2 separate regions of the Homo sapiens genome follow, and region 2 is linked to region 1. The links are contacts of gene promoters, found by promoter capture Hi-C in human tissues and cell types (Jung and others, 2019). All regions are on one chromosome and are shown on one strand. The core of a region is centred on a gene start or on the middle of the fragment in contact, and the rest is flanking DNA. Distances in the headings are between cores, read along the strand shown. Region 1 holds the start of KBTBD7 (kelch repeat and BTB domain containing 7). Region 2 has its middle 5.1 kb from the start of AKAP11.

Region 1 (6,793 bases), core at 2,231-4,730:
TGGGAGTGAAATTACACGGCGTTTAACATTAAAAGAAACTACAAAAGAATTTTCTAATGTGGTTATACCAATTTATATTCCTATTATTAGCATATGAGAGTTCCAACGGCTCCATATCTCCACTAATATATAGTATCATTGATGTTTTTAAGTTAAGGCATTCTAGTGGGTATTCAGTGTTTTCTTATTGTGAATTTAATGTGCATTGGCCACCGGGTATACATGTTACCAATATTTTTTCCCAGTCTGTGGTTTATCTTTTGTTGTTTTCACTGCCTTTCCATAGGCAGCAGCTTGTAATTTTGTTGAAATTCACTTTTGAAATTCACTTTGTCTTTTTTTTATGATCTGTGTTTTTGGTGTCCCAAGAAAACTTTGCCAACCGCAAAGCTATAGTCTTCTATGTTTTCTTTTCTTTTCTTTTTTTTTTTTTTCTGAGACGGAGTCTCGCTCTGTCGCCCAGGCTGGAGTGCAGTGGCGCAATCTTGGCTCACTGCAAGTTACGCCTCCTGGATTCATGCCATTCTCCTGCCTCAGTCTCCTGAGTAGCTGGGCCTACAGGTGTCTGCCACCATGCCCAGCTAATTTTTTGTATTTTTAGTAGAGACAGGGTTTCACCGTGTTAGCCAGGATGGTCTCAATCTCCTGACCTCATGATCCGCCTGCCTCAGCCTCCCAAAGTGCTGGGATTACAGGTGTGAGCCACTGCACCCGGCCCTATGTTTTCTTTTTGAAGCTTTATAGTTTCCACTTTTCCATTTAGTATTAGGAGAAATTTTGAATTAATTTTTTGCTTATGGTGTAAGGTAGGGGCAAGGGCAACTTTCTGTCTTACATTCTTGATCCAGTTGTTCCAATAACATTTGTTGAAAAGAATTTTCTTTCTTCATTGAATTGCATTGGTATCATGCTGTATTTCTAAAATTTTAAATTTAATTCCTCAGTTGCACTAGCCACATTTCACGTACCCAAGAGCTACATGTGGCTTCTGGCTACTGTATCAGCCAGCACAAATATAAAATATTCCCAAGTTTTATGGGACAGCACATAGCTCTAGATCTTAGGGAATAGTGCCTAATAGATATCTTCAATTGTGTGACAGGTAACCTAAACCAAATAACACAGTAAGAGCAGATATAAGGAAGGTAAAAATCAGTCACTGCCTATATGAGGTACCTAGAGTAGTCAAAAGTCATAGAGACAAAGAGTAGAATGGCAGTTGCCAGAAGTGGGGGCTAGAGAGTTATTGTTTAAATGGGTACAGAGCTTCAGTTTTGTGATAGTGGCAAAACCGTGTGAATATATTTAATGCTAAAGAACTATACACTGAAAATGTTTAAATGGTAAATTTAGTGTTATGTATATTTTACCAATATTTTAAGAAGTTTTTTAAAATGGCCATTCCTGCGCTGGGCATGTGGCTCATGCCTGTAATTGCAGCAACTCAGAGGCTCAGGCAGGAAGAGTGCTTGACACCAAGATTTCCAGACCAGGCTGGCAACACAGTGAGACCCTGTCTATAATTTTTTTTTAATTAACTGGGTGTGGTGGTATGCATCTATAGCTCTAGTTACTTGGGAGGCTGAGGGCAAAGTATTGCTTGAGCACTGGAGTTTGAGGCAGCAGTGAGCTATTATGGTGCCACTGCACTCCAACCTGGGTGACAGGGCAAGACCCCATCTCAAAAAAAAAAAAAAAAAAGAAAAAAAAAAGGCTTTTTTCCCCAGCTGGTATTCACTGCAAGTCAGGAAACAATCATTGTTACTGATAATGACTGACTTGATTCTCTCTGGTGTATCTGAGGGATATCTAACATCTCTTTTTATTTACAGAGGAGTTATTAGAGCCCAGAGGCTGACTTAATTTAATGTGTCTACCCTAGAGTATTTCCAGTGGACTTCAGCTGATAAGTTGAAGTTATCTTCAGCTGATAAGAGAAAAACAATTTGAAAGTTATTCTCTTGTAATGTGTTATCCATACATGCATGTAACACTGATGATTTTCTTTATTAGGTTATGGTAACATAACAAACTAGCAGCAGGAGCAGTCATGGTTTTGTAATAAAAGTTATCTGAAAAAGTCTGTTACTGGTGGAGGGTGTCCAGGTTCTTGGCGTTTTGGACAAAAAATTGGACAAAACACATAAACAAAGCAAGGAAACAATGAAACAACAAAAGCAGAGATTTACTGAAAATGAAAGTACACTCCACAGTGGGGAGCGGGCCTGAGCATAGGGGCTCAAGGGCCCTGTTACAGAATTTCTGAAGGTTTAAATACCCTCTAGAGGATTCCACTGGTTACTTGGTGTACACCCTATGTAAATGAAGAGAATGAAGTAAAGTTACAAACTCATTTACTCAGCATACACCCTATGGAGAGGATCTTTCCTGTTATAGCTAAAGTGTGAATCAGCCTTATGTTCCCTGCCTCCAGACCCTATTTTCCTGCCTCAAATCTCTAATACTTGATTTTGATGATTTAACTGTTGATCCCAATGCAAATATAAAAGACTTTGTAAAGCATAGACTATACTATATATTAATTCAAGGAATGTCAGGGCATGTACTGATGTTGAATTCTGAGAATCATGTGCTTTTGTACAGAACAAAGTCTGTTTGTTGAAATATTTTGAGTTAAAATACTCCCTAAAACTCCTTAATAAAGGGAATTACATAATCTGTTAATTGATTTGTGGAACGGCAGTGAAAGAGGCTGTATTAGACGACTTGAAAACACTCATATTTGGAGCTTAACGAAAATACTCCTGCTCTCCAGAGATGAAATGTTAGTGAGAGCAGCAAATAATTTATTTTTATATGCTGGATTTGCGTATTTGAGACCATCTATTAATACTGTTCTTTAGGACCTCAACCTAGTCGTCTAAGACATCCTTATTAAACGAGACCAATAGATATCATTTAATATTGAAAATATTGTTAATGCCCTTCAAAATCTTTCGAAGGAATAAACATTAAAAACTAGAAATTCTTTGTAAAATTTTGCGGTTTAAAATAATACTCGGTTTCAAATTAGTGGGTGCCTCATTTATCATAAATTATAAAAGAGAATCTAACAGTTATTGGCTACATTCTAGGCACGGGGTAACGCTTTACTATTCTTCTAACCAAAAACATACATGTATCTAAGTATCCCATGTAAGGTATCATTGAACCACACAAAACCCTATGAAATACTGGCAGGGGGCGGTGGCTCACGCCTGTAATCCCAGCACATTGAGAGGCCGAGGCAGGAGGATAATTTGAGCCCTCAGGAGTTCAAGACCAGCCTGGGCAACAGTCTCTTCACCATCAAATCCAGGAGAATTAATTTCTACTGTTAGAGCAGTCAACTAAAGGACAGCTCGCGATATTACACAAACTACTACTCCCAACATGCAAAGCGGTTTCTTTCCCTCTGTCCCCGCCCGGCCGTCCGAGAGCCCCAGCAGGCCTCGGGGCGCGAAAGGCAACCTGGGAGCAGTAGTTCTCCCGGGCGCCTAGCGGGATCGCCAGCGCGGCAGTGGGGGCTTCCGCGGCTGCAAGCCAGCGGGTCCTGTGAGGGCGAGCGGAGGCGGAGAAAGGGCGCGGGAGTGAGAGAGGGTGAGTCAGCCACTGTCTATGCAATAAAGGGAGGCCTCACCGCGGGATAGGGCTGAATTCAGAAGTGCGGCCCGTGCCGCAGTCTGTTCCAGGACGCGGCTTGTCTTAGCGTCAGCGAGGGAAGGTTGAGGAGGAGCCAGAGCCTGGTCCTGCAGCCTTTCTCGCCGTCAGCGCCCGTCGCCATCTCCACCATGCAGTCCCGGGAAGACGTCCCGCGCTCTCGCCGCCTCGCCAGTCCCCGTGGTGGGAGGCGGCCCAAGAGGATTTCCAAGCCCTCGGTTTCGGCCTTTTTCACGGGTCCAGAGGAGTTAAAGGACACGGCCCATTCTGCAGCCCTGCTGGCACAGCTCAAGTCCTTCTACGACGCGCGGCTGCTGTGTGATGTGACCATCGAGGTGGTGACGCCTGGCAGCGGGCCTGGCACGGGTCGCCTCTTTTCCTGCAATCGCAACGTGCTAGCAGCTGCGTGTCCCTACTTCAAGAGCATGTTCACAGGTGGCATGTACGAGAGCCAGCAGGCCAGCGTGACCATGCACGATGTGGACGCCGAGTCCTTCGAGGTGTTGGTCGACTACTGCTACACGGGTCGTGTGTCTCTCAGTGAGGCCAATGTGCAGCGCCTGTACGCGGCCTCCGACATGCTACAGCTGGAATATGTGCGGGAAGCCTGTGCCTCCTTCTTAGCCCGACGTCTTGACCTGACCAACTGCACCGCCATCCTCAAGTTTGCAGACGCCTTCGACCATCACAAGCTTCGATCTCAGGCCCAGTCCTACATAGCTCACAACTTCAAGCAGCTCAGCCGAATGGGTTCAATTCGGGAGGAGACTCTAGCAGATCTAACCCTGGCCCAGCTGCTGGCTGTCCTACGCCTGGATAGTCTGGACATAGAGAGTGAGCGGACTGTATGCCATGTAGCTGTGCAGTGGCTGGAGGCTGCTGCCAAAGAGCGGGGTCCCAGTGCTGCAGAAGTCTTCAAGTGCGTGCGCTGGATGCACTTCACTGAAGAAGATCAGGACTACTTAGAAGGGCTGCTGACCAAGCCCATCGTGAAGAAGTACTGCCTGGACGTTATTGAAGGGGCCCTGCAGATGCGCTATGGTGACCTGTTGTACAAGTCTCTGGTGCCAGTGCCAAACAGCAGCAGCAGCAGTAGCAGCAGCAACTCTCTTGTATCTGCAGCAGAAAATCCACCCCAGAGACTGGGTATGTGTGCCAAGGAGATGGTGATCTTCTTTGGACATCCTAGAGATCCCTTTCTCTGCTATGACCCTTACTCGGGGGACATTTACACAATGCCATCCCCTTTGACCAGCTTTGCTCACACTAAGACTGTCACCTCCTCAGCTGTCTGTGTGTCCCCAGACCATGACATCTATCTAGCTGCTCAGCCCAGGAAAGACCTCTGGGTGTATAAACCAGCTCAGAATAGTTGGCAGCAACTTGCAGATCGCTTGCTGTGTCGTGAGGGCATGGATGTGGCATATCTCAATGGCTACATCTACATTTTGGGGGGACGAGACCCTATTACTGGAGTTAAGTTGAAGGAAGTGGAATGCTACAGTGTTCAGAGAAACCAGTGGGCATTGGTGGCTCCTGTCCCTCATTCCTTCTATTCCTTTGAACTCATAGTGGTTCAGAACTATCTTTATGCTGTCAACAGTAAGCGCATGCTTTGCTATGATCCTAGCCACAATATGTGGCTGAACTGTGCTTCTCTTAAACGTAGTGACTTTCAGGAAGCATGTGTCTTCAATGATGAAATCTATTGTATCTGTGACATCCCAGTCATGAAGGTCTACAACCCAGCTAGGGGAGAATGGAGGCGGATTAGTAATATTCCTTTGGATTCAGAGACCCACAACTACCAGATTGTCAATCATGACCAAAAGTTGCTTCTCATCACTTCTACAACCCCACAATGGAAAAAGAACCGAGTGACAGTGTATGAGTATGATACTAGGGAAGATCAGTGGATTAATATAGGTACCATGTTAGGCCTTTTGCAGTTTGACTCTGGCTTTATTTGCCTTTGTGCTCGTGTTTATCCTTCCTGCCTTGAACCTGGTCAGAGTTTTATTACTGAGGAAGATGATGCACGGAGTGAGTCTAGTACTGAATGGGACTTAGATGGATTCAGTGAGCTGGACTCTGAGTCAGGAAGTTCAAGTTCTTTTTCAGATGATGAAGTCTGGGTGCAAGTAGCACCTCAGCGAAATGCACAGGATCAGCAGGGTTCTTTGTAAATAGTATTTTGAGACACTAAGATGTTTCTACTGCTACGGAATGTATTTTAAACACATATCGTTTCTTTTTCTTGGAAAAAAAGTTGATTAGGACCACAGATTTGGTTTAGAAAGGGTAATATTTTGAAATACTACAAGGTTTAGACAGTCCATGAAATCGACCTGTTTAATAATTTACCATCCTGAAAGTCCAGAATTAAAATATGGAAGCAAGAACTATATAATTGATTAGGATGCTTGGTAGGTTTTTTTCATTGTTCAAATATTCATTGCACAGTGGATTGTTTTGATTAGTTAGTATGCTTTTTTTTTAATTAATTCAGTCTTCTGTTAATTTTTAAGTTTTGGTTAGTGCCACAAGGAATTTAACTTTTTGATTTGTATAATAGAAAACTGAACTAGGAATTGTTAGCGGGGTTTTGAAGGATGTGTACTTTCCTTCAAAATAAAGTGGTAGATTTTCAAAATTTTACACTAGTCAGTTCTTTATATTCTAAGTTAAATGTAGTTTGTAAAATTATTTTGGTTTTCTTCTACAAAGGAAAAAATTGGATTTATATATATAAGGTTACTGCATAATGATTTCATTTTGATAATGTGCAGAATGGCCTCATAAGCTCACAGAAAGTAAAAAAAAAAAAAAAAAAAAAGAAAAAATCAGGATTCCACTGTTTTAAAAGAAATCTCAGTTTTTATTTTGGAATATAAAATGTGTATTTGGTATATGTGACCAATTTTCTATCCCAAAAAACACCCATTCTTAGTAATGTCATGAATTAAACACCCTTCTAAACCAAAAAAAAAAAAAAAAACGGTAACTTGCTTTTTATGTTTGTGTTTTTAATTTATGCCCAATACATGCTTTACTGACTCAGAGGAACAATTCCTGGACATATAATTGGGTAATGCAAATTTTTATCCACTGGTCATGATTTGTCTTAAAATGT
Region 2 (6,793 bases), core at 2,625-5,124, 1.1 Mb before region 1:
TTCTGGTCAGAAGTGTTATTTGTGGTTTATGGTCATGCTGACATTAGCCATTAGGCTGATGTTTCTGGGGCTGGATTTAGGCGGTTTTTAATCAAGGGGAACTTAAAATGGCGGTGCTTGTCCAAGATGGTGATGCTCTTGCTCTGTCAGAAACTAGCATGGGCCAGATCCTGTAAGGCTTTGTTAGCCAAGAAAGGAATTGAAAGTTTATTCTAAACGCAATATAAGGTATTACAGAGTTTTTAATAGGGGAGAGACACCCAGAGTTTACTTTTTTTTAAAAAAAAAAAGTCTCGTCTTTGAAAAGAATGGGTCTTAAAGAGGCCAAAGCAGAAGTAAGGGAGATTAGGAGATTTATAGGCCAGGTGAGAGACAGTCATGAAATTTAATTTAATTTCCTATGATCTCAACATTTCTAAAATCCATTAGGTCAGAGTCCTCATGCTGTTTCTGCCTTTGTTGAAACATGTGGATTTCTCCTAATTACTAGGAAAAATAAAATGGAGGATTTTCTTTTGTTACCTGGGGGAAAACAAATGGCTGAAAAGGAAGGGCCCATCTTTAATTTTTTTCCCTCCATTATGCTACACTGACAACCACCTCTTCTGTCTATTCTTAAAGTCAATTCTGGGAACAGAAAATGAAATTCTACGCAGATACTTATTCTTTAGTGTAAGATTTGAAAAGATAGAGGTTGAAAGCTCAGAAATCAAGAGGATGTTTCACCAAAAGAAACGAATCAGGAGATGAGTTCCAACTCGAAGCTCTGTCATTAGTGATACAACCAAATCAAGGTTCCTTATCACCACTGAGTCTCAGCTTCCTCATACATAAAACAAAGCAATGTAACTAGCCTACACCTAAAGTAGTTAAGCCTGAATTACACTTTAACATGCACATACCAGTAGGACGGAAGCTGGAAAGGGAAATGAAATGATTTTTTATGAAAACCTAACAGAGTCAGCGGCTCAACCCAAATGAAATTAGACACACACACACCAGCTGAATAACTCTGAAAACGGTTGATACAGATACCAGGAATGCTTCCCTAAGAAACCTTGGCCTTCTCAGAGTGTGAAAACGGAAACACCGCCACCTGCTCAACCTCGAATTCCATCTCTCTTAAGCTATTTTGAACCTGTGTAGTATTAAATAATGATTCATGTGTTCCTAATCAGAGTTTAAGAACTAGATAGCAAATACATTTTTTAAAAGGTCTGAGGCAATATCCTAAAGTTAAGCTAACACCTTAATTTTAACGAAAGCAAGATTTCAAGATACATAGGGCTACTTTTTAAAAGGAAAAACGCCAAAAAGAGAAAAAGTACTATTTTAACAAAGTAGGACCATTCTTTTAAAATGTTAATTGAGTATTTTTTGAGTGTTTACAGCCCTCATAATGATTAACTGAAACAGCTGCTTGGTACTACTAATTTAGATGAACTCTGGGCCCAACTCTCCCAATCGAACATGTATTAACAGAGCCCGAAATAAATCCTCCCAACTCACCTTAGCAAGACAGTCATTGTGCTCTCTTGTGCTAGCTACAATTATTTGCAGTACATTAATACAAAGTGAGAAAAAATTAGGATTGAGATCCAGTTCTGCTGTGTCCCCAGTTCCTGGATTCTTTTTAAAACTGTGTTTTTTAACAGTTTTACTGAGATGTAATCCATTTACCATACAATTCAGTGCTTCTGGTAGATTTACAGTTGTGCAACTGTCATCAAAATCTAATTTTAGAAGTTTTGTTCCTCCCTAAAAGAAACTCACATACTCAGTAGCAGCCAATCAACTTTATGTCTATAAAGACTTGCCTATTCTGAAGGTGGAAACCATCATTCTAAGCAAACTATCACAAGGACAGAAAACCAAACACCGCATGTTCTCACTCATAGATGGGAGTTGAACAATGAGAACACATGGACACAGGACACAAGGCGGGGAACATCGCACACCGGGGCCTGTAGGGGGTTGGGGGGCTGGGGGAGGGATAGCATTAGGAGAAATACCTAATGTAAATGACAAGTTGATGGGTGCAGCAAACCAACATGGCACATGTATACCTCTGTAACATGTTGTGCACATGTACCTTAGAACTTAAAGTATAATAAAAATAAAATAAAAAATAAAAAAGACTTGCCTATTCTGGACAGTTCATATAAATGGAGTCATACAATACATGGTCTCTTGGGTCTCACTTCGTTCATTTAGCATGTGTTAAAGGATCATCCATGTTGAAGCGTGTATCAGTACTTCATTTATTTTTTATTGCCGAATAACAGTTCCATTCTATGTATATAGCACAGTTTTATTGGCCAACTTATCAGTTGACAGACAATTCAGTTGTTTCTACTTTTTGGCTATTATGAATAATACTGCTTTGAATATTCCTATACAAATTTTGTGTGGATGTTGCTGATTCTTTTTAATACTCTAAAAAATAGAAGACGTTCTATTTATCCCATTTACAGAGTTCATATTTCTCCTCCTAGCACCGTTCCTTTGCTTCCAGGATTTGTCTTTTTTGCCTGCTGGTTGAAGTATGTGCACTCTATCTCCAGAGGGCTGCCATTTCTACTGCATCTGACCATGCCATTCCCCTGCTTACAATCCTTCAGTGGCTTCTCATGGTTTTCCTCATAATCTGCTTTTCTCCTTTGCTTTCATATCATTCTCCCTTTCAGACTGTCCCCTTTTCAGTTCCTCAAAATAGGACCAGACCCTGCCTGCCTCATCACCTTCCACAGGCTGTTTCTTCAGGATCCAATATTCTTTCTCTGTCCATCCCTGTTAACAGCTGAATGCCCAAGAATCCTTCACCTTTCAACTCTACTGTCACTTCCTCAGGAACTTTCGTCCTAACTCCCCAGACTAAGTAAATCCCCTTTACTTAGGACTCCCTACTTTTTCTTCAACGCATTTATCAACTTATAACAATTTTTATTTGTGTGGTTACCTAGTTAATGTCTGTCTCCCTCCTCCACTGAACTGTGAGATCCATGAGCAAGGGCTGTTTCTGTTTTTGCTTAGGAGTTCCTAAGGCACATAGTAGGTACTCAATAACTATTCAAAAAAAGAGAAGCGGGGAAGGAGGGTGTCTTACCAGACTATTCTTTATTCTCTTTAATTTGTATTGTCAGGAGTCCTCAGTAAAGTCCTGATAAATGCTATAAGCCAAATCTGTGCTATGTTAAGGGAAATGAATGTCAAGGCATGTCCCATGCTTGGGATGTTGCAGCAGGGAGAAAACAGGTGTCCCCTGCTCATACTCCTCACAGAAACGGGGTAGGGAGAGGAGAGACCAGTGGTGTACAAAGGAGCCAGGGCAGCAGGGTGGCAAGTCAGGGAACACAGCCTGTGTCCAAGGGCACCCAAGAGGGTGCCTGGGAACCCCTGTGTGTCTCCTAGGGACATTTTAGTGGGCCAATTTCCAGCAATCAAATTGGTGGTGTCTCCTCCACTGTAATTTTCTAAGTTAATGGAAATATTTCTTTCATTTTTAGACATACTGTAATAGAAACAAGACATTTGGGTTATAGGCACATGAAAGAATTATGACCCAGCAAGGTTGAATGATTTATTCTGGATCACATGGGGCACTAAATGGAATAGTTCAGACTAAAATTAGCTAGTTCGGTCTGGTCCTACCTTTCAACAAAACTAAGCCTAATACACAAAGCTAGCCTCTCAGCTTAATACCCTTGGTGACCTTCTGACTACAAAGGCAGGCATCATCTTTCCCCAGGAGCTTTGGAGCTTTACAGTAGCAGCCTCTGACAGCCAAGAGCAGATTCCATATCGCTTCCTGTTTGAAAACTTGAGTCTCCCTTTGGCCCACTTGCTGAATTCCTGCCTGAGTGATATTTCCTGCCTGAGTGATGGTCCCAGCTGGTGGCTCACTTGTAAAAGTGAGATGTCAAGTCCTTCTTTTCTACATTGTTCAGTTTTAGGACTTTGTTTTTTATGATTATGAATTAATACACACGTTATATAGAACATTAGAAAATACAAGAAAAAATAATGGAGCAGACCAGTTATTTGATGGTTGCTTTACATGTATTATTTAACTTATTATTATTTTGTGTTTGTTTGGAGACAGAGTCTCTGTCACCCAAACTGTAGTGCAGTGACCATAGCTCAGTGTAGTCTTGAGCTCCTAGGCTCAAGTGATCCTCCCCACTTACCTCCAGTGTAGCTAGGACTACAGGTGCGCACTACTGCATCTGGCTATTTTTTAAAATTTTTTGTAGATACAGAGTCTTGCTATGTTGCCCAGGCTGGTCTTGAACTCCTGGGCTCAAGCCTCCCAAAGAGCTGGGATTATAGGCGTGAGACACTGCATCCAGCCAAATTTGTTAATACTTAATAAACCAATGTATTAATAAAACATTCTGAAAGGGGAAAAATGTGGAAATTACAGTTTCATCAGCTGTTTAAATATGTAAAGGTGCTTTTTAAGTTCAAGAGGTGAAATACCTCTTTTATGCCTTCGGTTTGAATGCCTATATATTATATCACAGTCTACTATATACTTTATAATGTACATACTGTCAACCTTAATGAGATTCAGAAAATATGATTCAGTATGGAGTTTATTTGAGCATAAAGCTTGAGGATGACAACCTGGGAACAACAATTCCAGATGAATGGGGTCAGTATTCCAAAGTGGAGAAGTTAAGGTTTCACTTACATAGTCTCAGAGAGAGAAATTTTAGCAGGATTATCACATTTTCCACAGGAGACCAGTGTATTACAGCAATTTGATTGGTTATAGATTGCTACATTCCAAGGAAGATGACTTTATTACTCTGTGAGTAAGAGTAGTGATCTGAGAGGGTCTTATATCTGGTGCCTTTTGATCTTACTAATTATTTACAGAAAAAAAAGAGCAGAAGTTGCAACTGCATGCCGTGTGACTCAGGCTGCAGAGCCATGTTCCTCTCAAGGCACAGAATAATGTAAAGTTCCAACAGCTTTAAGTTTAAATGATTTAATTTCACAGCACTTACCTAATTCTTTTGTAGCGAGTGTCTTTATAAGGATAGAGACACATCTTAACCACTGTTAAAATTATACCTAGTGATATTTTAATACACGGTGGCACTCATTAACTGTTCAATGCTAAAATCATAGAATCCTAACTATACTAATTAGTAAATATAGTACAAATGATAATTCAGAAGTGCCAATCCAAATTAAACACTTCTTGAACAGCAAAATCAATCTGAGTCCTACTATATATTTTACTCAAATATAATGATTCTTCTGATTTAAATCATAGCTAATTACTGAATTATAATACTTCTAATATGTAAAACATAGATGTACCTTCTTTTAAGAAAATGTAATATATACTTGTCCAAAGTTCAAAAACAAGTAATTATGCCTAAATGTAACTAGTTGATAAGATAAAAGAGTTTATTTAAATATCATTGCTCTGCTGATTTTACATGACTGGTTTATAGTTAAATTAGAAGTGCAAGGTATTATAAAAAGCTTATGTTACAGACATTACAAGTTCAAAGAAGCATGAATGTTATCAAGCATTTCAAAAGCATTTAGCATAAGTAAATAATAGTTTAATTTACCATATAAAATTTATACACAACTTTTAAAAAATGTCTTTTGCAAAAAGTGAGATAGACTTCCTCTTCATGTGAGCCAATAGCATACATGCTTACTGCTTTAAAAAAGATGTTAGATGACTTCCCCTGGATTATATATCTAAAGGACAAGGTCAGCTTTTGGAATATTGTCCTAACTTTATGACAAGATAAAACAGATCTTAGAACAAGTTATTTCTGGGTCTGTCATTCCTGTTGCTTAGCTGCTTTGCTTGAAAAATGAAACATTAATTCAAAGTGTCAGTCAGAGCATCCTTATTCATTAGTTAGCTCACATGAAATTTAACAGAAATATCCTTACGTGATTAGATCTTTAAAGGAGGTAATAGTCATGCATATGAAACATGAATATTATTAATACATGCTTACATACGGTACAGAAAGTCATTAAACACTGGGGTAAAAATCTAGGTTGAAAAGTGGTAGAACTTTTAAGACCCCCAAATGCCTCCTAGCCCAGGCTGTAGGAAATCCTTGCTCTATTTGCAATTTTAAGCCACTAAACTACGTTAGAGATATCCAGTCTGTCCCCTTACTAGATTTGATCCCAATTTATTTTGGATTGCCCAAAGTCATCTTGAACACATTTGTTCCCCTTCACCACAATGGAATATGTGAAATCAGCTAAGCTTCTGAAAGATAGACTAGGATTTCTTGATAGCCAATCTTCATGAACATCAAAGTAGCCAACCATTTCTGATTTATTGGTTTACTGGCCTGCAACCCTTTATGGTTAGTCCAATCTTCTTCATCGGAAGGATGCAGCTACCAAAACATGGCAAATGCAACTTTAGGCTACATGAATGCTAGTGTGATGCTCAAGACAAAAGAGGTGCTAGTCCTACTGTACTCTAACTAGTCAGTATGCACCTGCATTAGCCATAGTGAAATATGACCAGAGGTGAGGAGCCTAAGGGAATATCTCATATGTGAAACTTATCTTGTTGGTATTTAACCTGAAGAAGGGGAGACTCAGAGGGATATAGTAAACTGAGGTTGAAATGCTAATGTCTGAGAACTATCTGAGGCTTCCTCTGTCCTTCCAGAGGAAGAGGACAGATTTTTGTTCAATGTGAGGGGGAAAAATAATAATTACCATTATTTTTCAAATAGATGGGTTATCTTTATAAACAATGGGTGTCAAATTTCTTGGCACTTTTGTAATT

The links. Contacts are between HindIII fragments. The study calls those that stand out against the background at their distance.
Region 2: a fragment that was not itself captured here is called in contact with the fragment with the promoter of KBTBD7 in region 1 in 1 of the 25 tissues and cell types used here (dorsolateral prefrontal cortex).

What each region holds. Positions count from the first base shown.
Region 1 is chr13:41,191,256-41,198,048 of GRCh38, reverse strand. It overlaps KBTBD7 (kelch repeat and BTB domain containing 7), which reads left to right and starts at 3,480. Exons shown (of 1, transcript NM_032138.7): 1 at 3,480-6,793. The coding sequence starts at 3,792. The coding sequence ends at 5,846. The region is part of intron 3 of KBTBD6-DT (KBTBD6 divergent transcript); the gene reads right to left. RefSeq lists enhancers at 3,310-3,399, 3,710-3,979, 3,324-4,030, 4,031-4,738. The HindIII fragment of the contact is 7,226 bases long and covers 1-6,793 here.
Region 2 is chr13:42,263,675-42,270,467 of GRCh38, reverse strand. No RefSeq gene overlaps it. Among named protein-coding and RNA genes, the nearest start is that of AKAP11, 5.1 kb to the left of the region's middle. The HindIII fragment of the contact is 4,008 bases long and covers 1,871-5,878 here.